Linked DNA regions of Homo sapiens: regions 2 and 3 are each linked to region 1. The links are contacts of gene promoters, found by promoter capture Hi-C in blood cells and fetal thymus (Javierre and others, 2016). All regions are on one chromosome and are shown on one strand. The core of a region is centred on a gene start or on the middle of the fragment in contact, and the rest is flanking DNA. Distances in the headings are between cores, read along the strand shown.

Region 1 (4,433 bases), core at 1,128-3,627:
GGGACTGAGGCTGGCAGAAGATGAAAGGATGGGGTGGAGAGGGATAGAGAAGATGGAACACAGTTCAGGCCAGGCACAGTGGCTCACGCCTGTAATCCCTGCCCTTGGGGAGGCCGAGGTGGGCGGATCACCTGAGGTCAGGGGTTCGAGACCAGCCTGGCCAACATGGTGAAACCCCGTCTCTACTGAAAGTACAAAAATTAGCTGGGCATCATGGCAGGTGCCCGGCTAATCCCAGCTACTCGGGAGGCTGAGGCAGAAGAATCACTTGAACCCGGGAGGCGGAGGTTGCAGTGAGCCGAGATCATGCCACTGCATGCCAGCCTGGGGGATAGAGTGAGACTCTCCCTCCAAAAACACAAAAAGAAGATGGAACACAGTTCAAAGTGGGAGAAATCCCACCTCTTGATCTCTGGGTGGGTTAGGATTCTGACACTCATCACCCACTCTTCTCTGCCCAGCCACCTCCTGGTATGGGAAACTCCATCATTTCGGCCCTGGACCAGGGCAGAAAAACCACACCTGAGTTTGCCCAGGAATTTGGCTTTGTCCCTGGAGTGTGAAACCGGGAAACAGATTTGATGAGCTCAAGCTTGGAGAGGTGGCACACTTAGTCACCCTCTATAGGCAGAGCCCAGAGAAGGCAGAAGCTTCTGGATATCTGTCCTGGGATGCCTGTCTTTGGGTGGAGTCAAGTGTCCAGGAGCTGGAGAGGAACCCCGGGTCCTCTGAGGGGAGTGGGCCTTGGCGCCTTTGTTTGAGCAAAGCCTGAAAACACGTGCAGATTCTCGCCACACCTGGGCACCCACACACATAGCTCTGCCACCTCCAGCTGCTCACACCCTGCACATTGTTCCTGCCTGGCCTTCCCACCAGCAATCCCACCTCCACCCCTCTCTCAGTCTCTCCCCTTGGCACCAAAACCCAAATATCTTTCACCCCTGCACCTACTGTACCCACCCACTGGCTCTCGTTCTGGTCTTAGCCTCCCTCCCAACTGGCTTCTAGATGCATCTGCTGCCCCAAGCCTGCCCACCACCACCTGCCCTTCCTTCCGATGCCCTTTTCATGCCTGAGGCCAGACTCTCAGCTGTTTCCCCTCCAACCCGAGCCAATATGTCAACACTTGGGGCTTCAGGTTGGGGCTTAGGAGGCCCCATGTCGGGAGGGCAGGAAGGATGAGGGCCTGGCCCCAGCCCAGGTTCTGGCTCACAGGCTCCTGCTGCCCTGGGTCTTCGGCCCCTCCCCGTGGCTGCCTCAACCGGCTTTTCAGGAGACACTGCGTCCTGTTCCAGCTCGTGGCAATCAGCCCCCTGCCCTTGCCCAAGGGCTGGGAGGCAGGAGGTCTGGGTTCTGCGACAGGAATGGGATCCTGCCTCCAAAATCTGCGGCACTCCACAAGGGACTCTATGCTGCCCTGGCGACCCAGGCGCCCTTCCCTCCAGCACCCTGTGAGACCCAGACTCGGGCTCGGAGTCTCTTTCCTTGGCCTGTTCGAATCCATCCATTTGTCCAGTCAATAAATATTTACTGAACCCCAGGCAGTGTTCAAGAAGCTAGGAATACAGCAGTGATCAACACGACCAATTTACATTGCTAGTAGGTGAGACAGGCAATAAAAAATAAAGGTAATTTCAGATTTTTTTTTTCTGTGAAAACAAAAGGGTGATACTACAGAGTATAATTAATGCCATGTTATGGTCAGGAGAGGTTTTCTTGCGAAGTTGGCATTTAAGTCAAGTACGGATGAGGAGGAGCCAGCCACGTGAAGATCTGGGTTCTGCATTCCAGGCAGAGAGAGGAGCATGTGCAAAGGCCCTGCAGCAGGAATGAGCTTGGTGTGTTTGTGGAACAGGGAGAAGGCCTGTGTGGCTGGAATGGAATGAGTGAGGGCAGGGGCTGGCCCACAAGAACGAGGTCTGATGACTCCTTCATCCCACCTAGTGTTCTCCCCTCTCCAGACGGTGCCTCCCATCATTCTAGCCCCTCACTGCCTGGGGAGCTGGAGGCTTAGATGCCTGAGAGGAGTGAGGTGTTGAAGAATTGCCTGCATCCCAGGGATGGAGCATGGTGGAAGGTGGGTTTGCGAGAGAGGAGGCCTGGACAGTGGGTGAGGAATGAAAGAGGAGGTGGTTGGAAGGGCAGACACCCATCTCTGGGGTGGAGGGCAAGGAGCAAAGATGCCAGAGTTCTTCTCCATCCATGACTCACCCTCTCTTCCTCCTCCTCTCCATTGCTCAACTCCAAATCTCCCTGGGAAACACCTCCTTGACTGAAGACCAACTCAGTGCCTCACAGGGGTAATTGAGTCATGAGGGGTGGAGAAGAGGGCGAGAGGGAGAGAGGATAAATAGCAGCGTGGCTTCCCTGGCTCCTCTCTGCATCCTTCCCGACCTTCCCAGCAATATGCATCTTGCACGTCTGGTCGGCTCCTGCTCCCTCCTTCTGCTACTGGGGGCCCTGTCTGGATGGGCGGCCAGCGATGACCCCATTGAGAAGGTCATTGAAGGGATCAACCGAGGGCTGAGCAATGCAGAGAGAGAGGTGGGCAAGGCCCTGGATGGCATCAACAGTGGAATCACGCATGCCGGAAGGGAAGTGGAGAAGGTTTTCAACGGACTTAGCAACATGGGGAGCCACACCGGCAAGGAGTTGGACAAAGGCGTCCAGGGGCTCAACCACGGCATGGACAAGGTTGCCCATGAGATCAACCATGGTATTGGACAAGCAGGAAAGGAAGCAGAGAAGCTTGGCCATGGGGTCAACAACGCTGCTGGACAGGTTGGGAAGGAGGCAGACAAACTGATCCATCATGGGGTCCATCACGGGGCCAACCAGGCGGGAAGTGAGGCAGGGAAGTTTGGCCAGGGAGTCGACAATGCTGCAGGGCAGGCTGGAAATGAGGCTGGGAGGTTTGGCCAGGGAGTCCACCATGCTGCAGGGCAGGCCGGAAATGAGGCTGGGAGGTTTGGCCAGGGAGTCCACCATGCTGCAGGGCAGGCCGGAAATGAGGCTGGGAGATTTGGCCAGGGGGCCCACCATGGTCTCAGTGAGGGCTGGAAGGAGACAGAGAAGTTTGGCCAGGGGATCCACCATGCTGCCGGTCAGGTTGGGAAGGAGGCAGAGAAGTTTGGCCAGGGGGCCCACCATGCTGCGGGGCAGGCCGGAAATGAGGCAGGGAGATTTGGCCAGGGGGTCCACCATGGTCTCAGTGAGGGCTGGAAGGAGACAGAGAAGTTTGGCCAGGGGGTCCACCATACTGCTGGTCAGGTTGGGAAGGAGGCAGAGAAGTTTGGCCAGGGGGCCCACCATGCTGCGGGGCAGGCCGGAAATGAGGCAGGGAGATTTGGCCAGGGGGCCCACCATGCTGCGGGGCAGGCCGGAAATGAGGCTGGGAGGTTTGGCCAGGGGGTCCACCATGGTCTCAGTGAGGGCTGGAAGGAGACAGAGAAGTTTGGCCAGGGGGTCCACCATGCTGCCAGTCAGTTTGGGAAGGAAACAGAGAAGCTCGGCCATGGGGTCCACCATGGGGTTAATGAGGCCTGGAAGGAAGCAGAGAAGTTTGGCCAGGGTGTCCACCATGCTGCCTCGCAGGTGGGGAAGGAGGAAGACAGAGTGGTCCAAGGCCTCCATCATGGCGTTAGTCAGGCTGGAAGGGAGGCGGGGCAGTTTGGCCACGACATTCACCACACAGCAGGGCAGGCTGGGAAAGAGGGAGACATAGCAGTTCATGGTGTCCAACCTGGGGTCCACGAGGCCGGGAAGGAGGCAGGGCAGTTTGGCCAGGGAGTTCACCATACCCTTGAACAGGCCGGGAAGGAAGCAGACAAAGCGGTCCAAGGGTTCCACACTGGGGTCCACCAGGCTGGGAAGGAAGCAGAGAAACTTGGCCAAGGGGTCAACCATGCTGCTGACCAGGCTGGAAAGGAAGTGGAGAAGCTTGGCCAAGGTGCCCACCATGCTGCTGGCCAGGCCGGGAAGGAGCTGCAGAATGCTCATAATGGGGTCAACCAAGCCAGCAAGGAGGCCAACCAGCTGCTGAATGTAGGTGAACAGGGATGGGGAGATGGGGGACAGGGGGGTTGGGGGAGGGAAAGGTTAAACCCCTGGGACATTTGGCGGGGCGGGGGGGTCCGCGTAGCCTTTGTTTGGTGAAAGAAGCTTGGGCAGCTATATCACTGGGTTCCTCCCCCTTCCCCATCTCCCTTACAAAGGAGCTGGTGGCAGCTGGTCAGATGGGGTGAGCCACCTTATCTGCAAAGCACGTATCAGACAGGGTGGCGGGCACCCTGTCCCACCTTCAGGGAGCTGCCCTCCTGGTTAAGGGGGCCTCAAGTGGGGCCCATGAAGCCCTTCCTGGGGAATGGGAAACAGTTCCTGAGATCAAGATCTAGTATAGTGCAAAGGGACTGAGTGTTGACAAAACCTGGTTA
Region 2 (4,433 bases), core at 974-3,473, 190 kb after region 1:
AGATGGAGTCTCACTCGTCACCCAGGTTGGAGTGCAGTGGTGCGATCTCAGCTCACTGCAAGCTCCGCCTCCTGGGTTCATGTCATTCTCCTGCCTTGGCCTCCCAAGTAGCTGGGACTACAGGCGCCTGCCATCATGCCTGGCTAATTTTTTGTATTTTTACTAGAGATGGGGTTTCACCATGTTAGCCAGGATGGTCTCGATCTCCTGACCTTGTGATCCCCCCGCCTCGGCCTTCCAAAGTGCTAGGATTACAGGCGTGAGCCACCGCACCCGGCCTAAGTGCTCACCTTCTTAGAGAGGTCTCTCTCCATCACTCCCCTCTCTCGGCCTTATTTTTTTCCTAACACACATATCACTACCTACAATAGTGTTGTATATTTCTTTGTTAACATTGCTTTGTTCCAGATTCTAATGTCTTGGCTCATGCTCTGTATTTCTTTGGTAATCCATTTGTTGTCTGTCTCTTTCACTGCAGCGCTGGCTCCGCGTGGGGCAAGAGTTTTGCTCACTGCTGCACCCTGCCCACCGCCCCATGCCCCCCATTGGCAGCCGTAATAAGGCCTGGTACCTAGTAGGTTCATGATACGTATTTATTGAATGAATGAGGCACAAGATAATGATGCGAAAAAAATCCCCACCAAGAGGGGAACAAAAAGACCTAACCAGATAATCCCCAATTCATGTCATGGCTTGAGGATGGACCATTTTATTCTGTTAGGCTAGAGCAAATCTTTTTCCCGAAACACCAGGGCTGACAAGGCGGCGTGACCAGGGCTGGAGGATGCCGCCGTCTGTGCAGGCTTCCCCCTGCCCTGGGTGCATGCCCCCTGCGGGGCTGGGGAGAAGGTGACACAGACCTTGCCCTTCCCACAGGCATGCCGGGGAGACTCACGCTTCACGTTCAGCTGCACCGTGTCATTGGAGAGGAACTTCCCATCTGCATCCTGAAGCTGGCAGGTCACAATCTTCCCATGGTGACTCCACTGTGGGGAGAACTTGAGCTCGCTCCGGGTGAAGACAGACTTGATGGTCAAGGAGGTCGAGGTGACAGCAGCCTGCCTCATTGGAACCCCCTCTAGGAGCCACTGCAATTGGATCGGATACCCATAGCAGGAGAAATTCAGCAAGCAGGTCAGAGTGACTTCCTGGGACTCTTGAATTTCTGGAGGGAGCTGGATATGAGGTGGAAAAGGCCTTTCTGCAAAAGAACAGAGCCCGTGCAGGAGCCTGGGGGACTGAGGACGTGAGCGTACACCTGGCTTTAGATGTCCTGTCCCAAATCACCCCTCAGGAACCCCTTGCCACTTCATTCCACCTCTCTCCAGTCCTGCTTTGTTTTTTTGTTGTTATTGTTGTTGTTGTTGTGTTGTTGTTTTTTTGAGATGGAGTTTCCCTCTGTCACCCAGGCTGGAGTGCAGTGGCGCGATCTTGGCTCGCTGTAACCTCTACCTCCCCAGTTCAAGTGATCCTCCTGCCTCAGCCTCCCGAGTAGCTGGGATTACAGGTGCCCACCACCACACCCAGCTAATTTTTCTGTATTTCTAGTAGAGACAGGGTTTCGCCATGTTGGCCAGGCTGGTCTTGAACTCCTGACCTCAAGTGATCCTCCCGCCTTGGCCTCCCAAAGTGCTGGGATTACAGGTGTAAGCCACCACACCCGGCCTCTTTTTTTCTTTAGAGACAGGGTCTTGCTTTGTCACCCAGGCTGGAGTGCAGTGGCGCAATCCTAGCTCACTGTAGCCTCAACCTCCTAGGCTCAAGCAATCCTCTCACCTCAGCCCCCTGAGTAACTGGGACTACAGGCATGTGCCACCACACCTAGCTAGTTTTTTAAACATTTTGTAGAGACAGGGTCTTGCCATGTTACCCAGGCTGGTCTCAAACTCCTGGGCTCAAACGATCCTCCGATCTCAGCCTCCCAAAGTGCTGGGGTTACAGGCGGGAACCACTGCACCCAACGCAGTCCTGCTTTTCTCCACTTTGAATCACTTTTGCTCACCCGAAATCCCCTCTGAAAGGCCTTGACCACACTAAGCCTCCTTGGGAACTGTGATCTACTTTTCTTTCATGCTCATTGCCGGATGTCTGCTTTCTGAATGATTGCAAAGTTCTATTCCCACCACCTCACCACCTCTTTTTTTTTTTTTTTTTTTTTTGAGACAGAGTCTCGCTCTGTCGCCCGGACTGGAGTGTAGTGGCGTGATCTCAGCTCACTGCAAGCTCCACCTTCCGGGTTCACGCCATTCTCCTGCCTCAGCCTCCTGAGTAGCTGGGACTACAGGCGCCTGCCACCACGCCTGGCTAACTTTTTGCATTTTTAGTAGAGACAGGGTTTCACTGTGTTAGTCAGGATGGTCTCGATCTCCTGACCTTGTGATCCGCCTGCCTCGGCCTCCCAAAGTTCTGGGATTACAGGCGTGAGCCACCGTGCCCGGCCTATTCCCACCACCTCTAAGTGAATTTTATCAGTTTAGTTCACGGACTTTTCAGCTTTGACAAACTTGTGTTACTTTCATGGCTTCCTTCAGTATTGCAGCCATCCACGCACCGCATTCCTTTAGTGGAGTGGGTCTGTGTGCACCCAGCCTCAGCTCTCCCCAAGGCTGGACCACCTCCTTCAGACAGCGGGGTCTGAAGTTGCATTGCTCACCCCAAATTTAAGGCTGCTCAGAACTGCCCATCCGGGAAACGGTGTGGAACGGAGTGACCACACTCCCTGTGGCAGGGGCCCCCCACACCTGTGTTTGATGGGTCAAAGCCACCCCTACATGTGCAGTGCTATAACTGAACCTATGTTATAAAAATTATAAGATGTTCGTTTTACTTCTTTTCTTTTCTCTTTGTCCTTTCCTTCCTCCATGCATGATTAGTTACATTTGGTCATTTCAGTAGCAGGTAACCATTAATTCACTCATAATTGTTTAACTTACATCCTGACTCCCTGGCAGCTGCCTGCAAGATAAATGAACTTGTCTCTCTTTCAAAGAACAATGATCCTTAGGTCACACAGACCTCCTTGATGACATCCAGAAATTTGATGAGCCGAGGGGCACAACAGCTTTGACGATCGGGAGGTCACCTCCTGCACACCTACTTTACTCATAAAAGCCCCCACTAACGCTCAAAGTCAGGTCAGATTTGAGAGTTTCTCTCTTCTGTCCCCTTGCTTTGGCTAAATTAAATAATCCTATCTCAGCTTCTAAGCACTGAGGTGTCAGTGTTTGGCTGACTACGCATCGGGAGCTCAAACCTGGCCTTTGGGGTTCAACAACAGTGTCATCTGACCTTGAAGAGCTCATGAGAACTTGCCATGAACATTAACATGCTGGGAGATTTCACTGGAAAATCTAGATTTCCATCGTCTCTTGAAAAATCAGAAGATCAGGCCGGGTGCGGTGACTCATGCCTGTAATCCTAATGCTTTGAGAGGTTGAAGCAGGAGGATTGCTTGAGGCCAGGAGTTCAAGACCAGCCTGGCAACATAGCAAGACCCATTTCTACAACAAATTAAAAAGTTAGCTGGGCATGGTGGCATGCACCTGTGATCCTAGCTACTTTGGAGGTGGGAGGATTGCTTGAACCCGGGAGATCAAGGCTGCAGTGAGCTGAGATCGCGCCACTGCACTCCAGCCTGGGTGATGACAGTGCGAGACCCTGTCTCATAAAAAGGGAAAGGAAGGGGAAGGGGAAAAGAAGAGGAAAAAAAGTAAAACAAACATTTTATGATTTTTATAACACAGGCTCAGTTATGGCACTGCACATGTAGGGGTGGATTTGACCCATCAAACACAGGTCTGGGGCCTCTGCCCTAGGGAGTGTGGTTACTCCGTTCCACACCCAGTTTCCTCTATAGGGAGCTCTGAGCAGCCCTAAGTTTGGGGTGAGCGATGCAGCTTCAGACCCCAATGTCTGAAGGGGGCGGTCCAGCCTGGGGGAGAGCTGAGGCTGGTTACATGCAGACCCACCCCACTAAAGGAATGCGGTGCTTGGATGGTTCCAGTACTAAGGCCAAACACGAGTTTGTCACAAAAGCTGAAAAATACATGGTGAGAAAGAAAGAGGGAAAGATCAGGAGATCCGATAACTTTGGAATCCAGGTCCCAGAGGGGCAGGAACTGAGGGTCAGATGGGACATCCGAGGTCCCGCAGCTCTGTCTAGTGCTGCTGCATCGCCATCGTCATCCGCTGGCGTCCCCTGCCTGAGCTCTGCAGGAAGCTCGGTTTGTGAGCTCTGTGCCAGGAGTCAGGTATTTCCTGCCTCCCACTCACCCCTGCCCAGAGCAGAGGACCCGCTCCCCGAAGGCCTTACCAGAGACATTGAGGTGTATTCGTTCCATCCATTTCTCAGTCTTGGACTCCATCCTCAGCCCCAGCTGACCACTGTCATTGAGGTGCACCGGGTGGATACTCAGTGTGCAGTTCTTATTCTT
Region 3 (4,433 bases), core at 1,202-3,701, 140 kb after region 1:
TCTAATGGCTACATGGTATTTCATTTTAGGACTGTCTTATAATTTATGTAACCATTTAGGATTAATTTACATAGTTTACAGTTCTCTTGGTATAACAAACAGTGCCTCTGCAAATTTATCTATTACCTATCTATCTATCTATCTATCATCTTTCTATCTAGCTAGCTAGCTAGCTATCTGAACAGGTGTGAGTATTTTGGTTAGATGAATCTTTAGATCTATAATTTATGTAATTGCTAGTTCAAAGAGGTATGCCTTGAAATTGTTGATAGATATTTGCATATTACCTTCCTGATAGTGTTTGGTAATTTACATTTCCACCAGCTGTACATGGCAGAATCCCTTCCCCTGCACCTTCTCCAACACTGGATGTTTGAATCTTTAATGTTTTTCCTCATTATGGGTAAGGATGGGTAAAAATGATGAAATCTTGTTGTTTTAGATTACATTTAGAGGATTCTTCCTACTTAAGTGATCCAGGTTCATTTCAAACCACTGTAGGAAAGGATGGACTATTCAGTAAATTATGTTGGGATAGCTGCCTATCCACTGGGAAGAATTACAGCCAGGTAACAAGAATAAAAGGCAGGTGCATTCAAGATCAAAAATGTTTTTAAAAATAATAAATGTTGTGTAGGTATTGTGTAATTTTAAAAGTCTTATAAATAAGGAGGCTTTTTCCCAGTATGACATAATGTAGAAGTCATCAAAAAATGATGAGAAATTTGAGCACATAAAAAGAGATAACCTATGAAAAACATTACAATCAACAAAGTAAAAGGCCACTATCCTTCTACTTATACACCTGATATGAGGTTTGTAAGCCAATATTCAAAGAACTCCTGTAAGTCAAATAAGAACAAAGCAAGTATTGGGAGAAACACAAATGACTCTACACAATATGTAAATATTGTCTATCTCATTTTTAATCTGGGAGATTAATATGAAAATAATACAGAGTATGACGGTTAATTTTATGTGTTGGCTTGGCCACGCCACAGTGCCCAGATATTTGGTGAAACGTTATTCTGGGTGTTGCTGTGAGGGTGTTTTTGGATGAGATTGACATTTACATTGGTGGACTCTGAGCAAAGCAGATTGCCCTCCAAAATGTGGGGGACTCCTCCAGTCACTGAAGGCCTGAACAGCACAAAAGGCTGACCTCCACATGCAAAAGAGAATTCTCCTGCATGCTGGATTCAGACTTTGTCTGCAGCAGTGGGTCTTCCTGGCTCACCAGCAGGCTCTCTTTAGACTCAACCACAACTTCTTCCTGAGCCTCGAGTCAGCCAGCTTCCTCCGTCAGATTTTGGGCTCATCAAGCATTCACAATCACATGAGCCAATTCCTTAAATAAATCTCTTTATACACACATGCAGACATGCAGACACACACACACACACACACAAACACACACACAGAAACACACAGACACACACACGGAGACACACAGTAACACACAGACACACACATGGACACACACACAGACATGCACACAGAAACACAGAGACACACACAGACACAGAGAGATATACACACACACAGAGAGACACACAGACCCACAAAAACACACAGAGACACACAGAAACACATACAAACATGCACACAGAAACACATACACAGAGACACACATTAACACACAGAGCCACAAACATACATGCACACAGACGCACACAGAGACATACAGACACACACATGGAGACACATATACAGACACACACAAAAACACACACAGAGAGAAACACACACACAGACATGCACACAGAGACACACATAGAGACACAGACAGAGACACACATACAAAAACATACAGAGACACACAGAGGTACACACACACAGAGACACACACAGACATGCACAGAGACACACACACAGATACATACACAGACACACACACAGACACACACACACCGCAGAGACACACATACACACACAGACACATGCACAGAGACACAGACACACAGACACACCCACAGACACACATACACACACTCTATTGGTTCTGTTTCTCTGGAAATCCCAGACTAATACTTAAGTTTCTAAATTCTAAATATCATCTCAAAAAATTAAAATACAATATTTTCTCTTGTCAGCAGAGTTATGGGGTCTCTTACAGACTGTTGGGGAAGAAAGGGTTGACTCAGCCGGGGAAGGTAATTCATCGATATTTATCAAAGCTTTACATGTACATATCATTTAATTCAACAGTACGACTTGTAGGAAATGCACAGTGCACGTGCCTTTATGTAAAAGGATGTTCTCATAGCATTATTTATAATAGTAGAAAATTAGAGATATTTTTAAAAAATCATTCATTCATTTATTCACCATCAAATGCCCAGTCTGTGCTAGGCACGGTTTTAGGCACCCACTGGGTATATAGTGACAAAGAAAACTGACGTGGTGACTGCTGTCATGGGCTTCTCAGTCTAGTAGGAGTCACGTTAAACAAATGAACACACACATACAAACATCAAACCATGAGAGCGCAGTGTGAGATAATATCAGAAGGGGGCTACTTGATATTGGATGATCAGGGAAAGCCTCTCTAAGGCGTGACATTGGACAGAAACTTGGAAGAAGTGGGGAACTAGCCAGGTAAAGAGTGGAAGGCATGGTGCATGCAGACATTCAGAGCTTGGCCTGCTCAAGGGACAGAGAGAAGTCCAGGCCAGAAGAGCGATGTCAGTGACACTTCTCTGGGGATGGCCCCAGAGAAGCTTGGAGAGAGAGGCAGGGCCTCAAAGGCTGTGAGGAGGAGGCCAGAATGGAAAGCCATTGAAAAGTTTTATTCAGGGCAATGACAGGATCCAATTTATATTCCTCATGAAACTGGCCTGATTGTCCCATAGATGCTTCTTTTGGATCAACGTAGAAATTCACCCTTCTTTTTTTTTTTTTTTTTTTTTTTTTAGATGGAGTCTTTCTCTGTTGCCCAGGCTGGAGTGCAGTGGTGCGATCTTGGCTCACTACAACCTCTGCTTCCCAGGTTCAAGCAATTCTCCTGCCTCAGTCTCCTGAGTAGCTGGGACTACAGGCACATGCCACCAAACCCGGCTAATTTTTTGTATTTTTAGTAGAGACAGGGTTTCACTGTGTTAGCCAGGATGGCCTTGATCTCCTGACCTCGTGATCCACCCACCTCGGGCTCCCAAAGTGCTGGGATTACAGGCATGAGCCACTGTGCCTGGCCCCCTCCTGGTCTTAAAGTTTGAAGCCTGCATTTGTCTTATCTGAGTTCTTGCCACAGGAAATCAACGAATTGAAACTCACCAGATCACTGCATCCAGACAATGAGATGCCAGACCCCTCATCCCTCCTGATTTCCTTATCCCTCCCTAATTCCTTTGACCAACTCCTCTTCCTTACCTCTCCCTAACTCTGGTTTTCCCACATGTAGTTACATTTCTTCCCTGCTGTATAACCCCCTGATTTTAGTTGACTAGGGAGATGGATTTGAGACTGATCCCCATTTTCCTTGGCTAAAGCACTCAATTAAAGCCTTCTTCCCAGGCAGTACTCATTGTCTTGGTGATTGGCTTTCTGTGCAGTGAGCAACGGGACCTAGACTGGAGCCCTGGCATTTCAGTAACAGATTTTGGTTCCCTACCTGGGAACACATTGCTTGTGGCTCAGCTGCTGCAGACTGGGACTTTCAGAAGCCCCCTGTACAGCTGTCTGACCTTTTTTTGGCTGGAGGTGGGTTTCCATCTTTTTCTCTTTGGCTCTGCTGCTGCCAGCCCCAAATGTATTGCTGATTGCCTAGGAAGAACAGACTTTGAAATTTGATATCTGTGTCTGGATGGATGAGTGTCTTTTCTGGGTTCCAGACAGCAGGAAGGGCTCCTCTCAATTTGGGAATTTTCTAAGGAATTTCCATTTGCAGGTTGAATAAGCCCAAATGATGGAGGGAGGAAAGCACCATGACTGTTTCAGTTTGGACACTCTTGGGGCTTGTTAGTGAGAACTAAGCTCTGATTTTTAAAATCTTGCCCAAATTCCTATCTAAGGGGTCTAGAGAAGTCATGCTCTACAAACCATAAATTCTCATCAGATTTTTGTTGTTGTTGTTGAGACAGTCTTACTCTGTTGCCCAGGCTGGAGTGCAATGGTGCGATCTCAGCTCACTGCAACCTCTGCCTCCTGGGTTCAAGCAATTCTCCTGCCTCAGCCTCACGAGTAGCTGGAATTACAGGTGCCTGCCACTACGCCCTGCCAATTTTTGTATTTTTCGTAGAGATGGGGTTTCACCATAATGGCCAGGCTGTTCTCGAACTCCTGACCTCAGGTGATCTGCCTGCCTCAGCCTCCAAAAGTGCAGGGATTACAAGCGTGAGCCACCATGCCCAGCCCAGATGGGTTTTATTTAACTTACATATTGTGACTTACTTTCCAATCTTACTCTGGTATAACATTACACGACAAAGAAGAAA

Evidence for each region. Contacts are between HindIII fragments. The CHiCAGO score rates a contact against its expected background, and 5 or more counts as called.
Region 2: a fragment that was not itself captured here is called in contact with the fragment with the promoter of SBSN in region 1 in 9 of 17 cell types (megakaryocytes, M1 macrophages, erythroblasts and 6 more); the score reaches 8.4 in megakaryocytes.
Region 3: a contact is called between a fragment that was not itself captured here and the fragment with the promoter of SBSN in region 1, in 5 of 17 cell types (M2 macrophages, M0 macrophages, M1 macrophages and 2 more). The highest score is 8.9, in M2 macrophages.

What each region holds. Positions count from the first base shown.
Region 1 is chr19:35,526,255-35,530,687 of GRCh38, reverse strand. It overlaps SBSN (suprabasin), which reads left to right and starts at 2,377. Exons shown (of 4, transcript NM_001166034.2): 1 at 2,377-4,044. The coding sequence starts at 2,407. RefSeq lists enhancers at 1,226-1,726, 3,172-3,673. The HindIII fragment of the contact is 2,098 bases long and covers 653-2,750 here.
Region 2 is chr19:35,332,804-35,337,236 of GRCh38, reverse strand. CD22 (CD22 molecule) reads right to left here. Exons shown (of 14, transcript NM_001771.4): 3 at 4,313-4,433; 4 at 896-1,201. Among named protein-coding and RNA genes, the nearest start is that of CD22, 5.8 kb to the right of the region's middle. RefSeq lists a silencer at 3,723-3,932. The HindIII fragment of the contact is 4,678 bases long and covers 1-4,433 here.
Region 3 is chr19:35,390,372-35,394,804 of GRCh38, reverse strand. No RefSeq gene overlaps it. Among named protein-coding and RNA genes, the nearest start is that of LINC01531, 13 kb to the left of the region's middle. The HindIII fragment of the contact is 543 bases long and covers 2,180-2,722 here.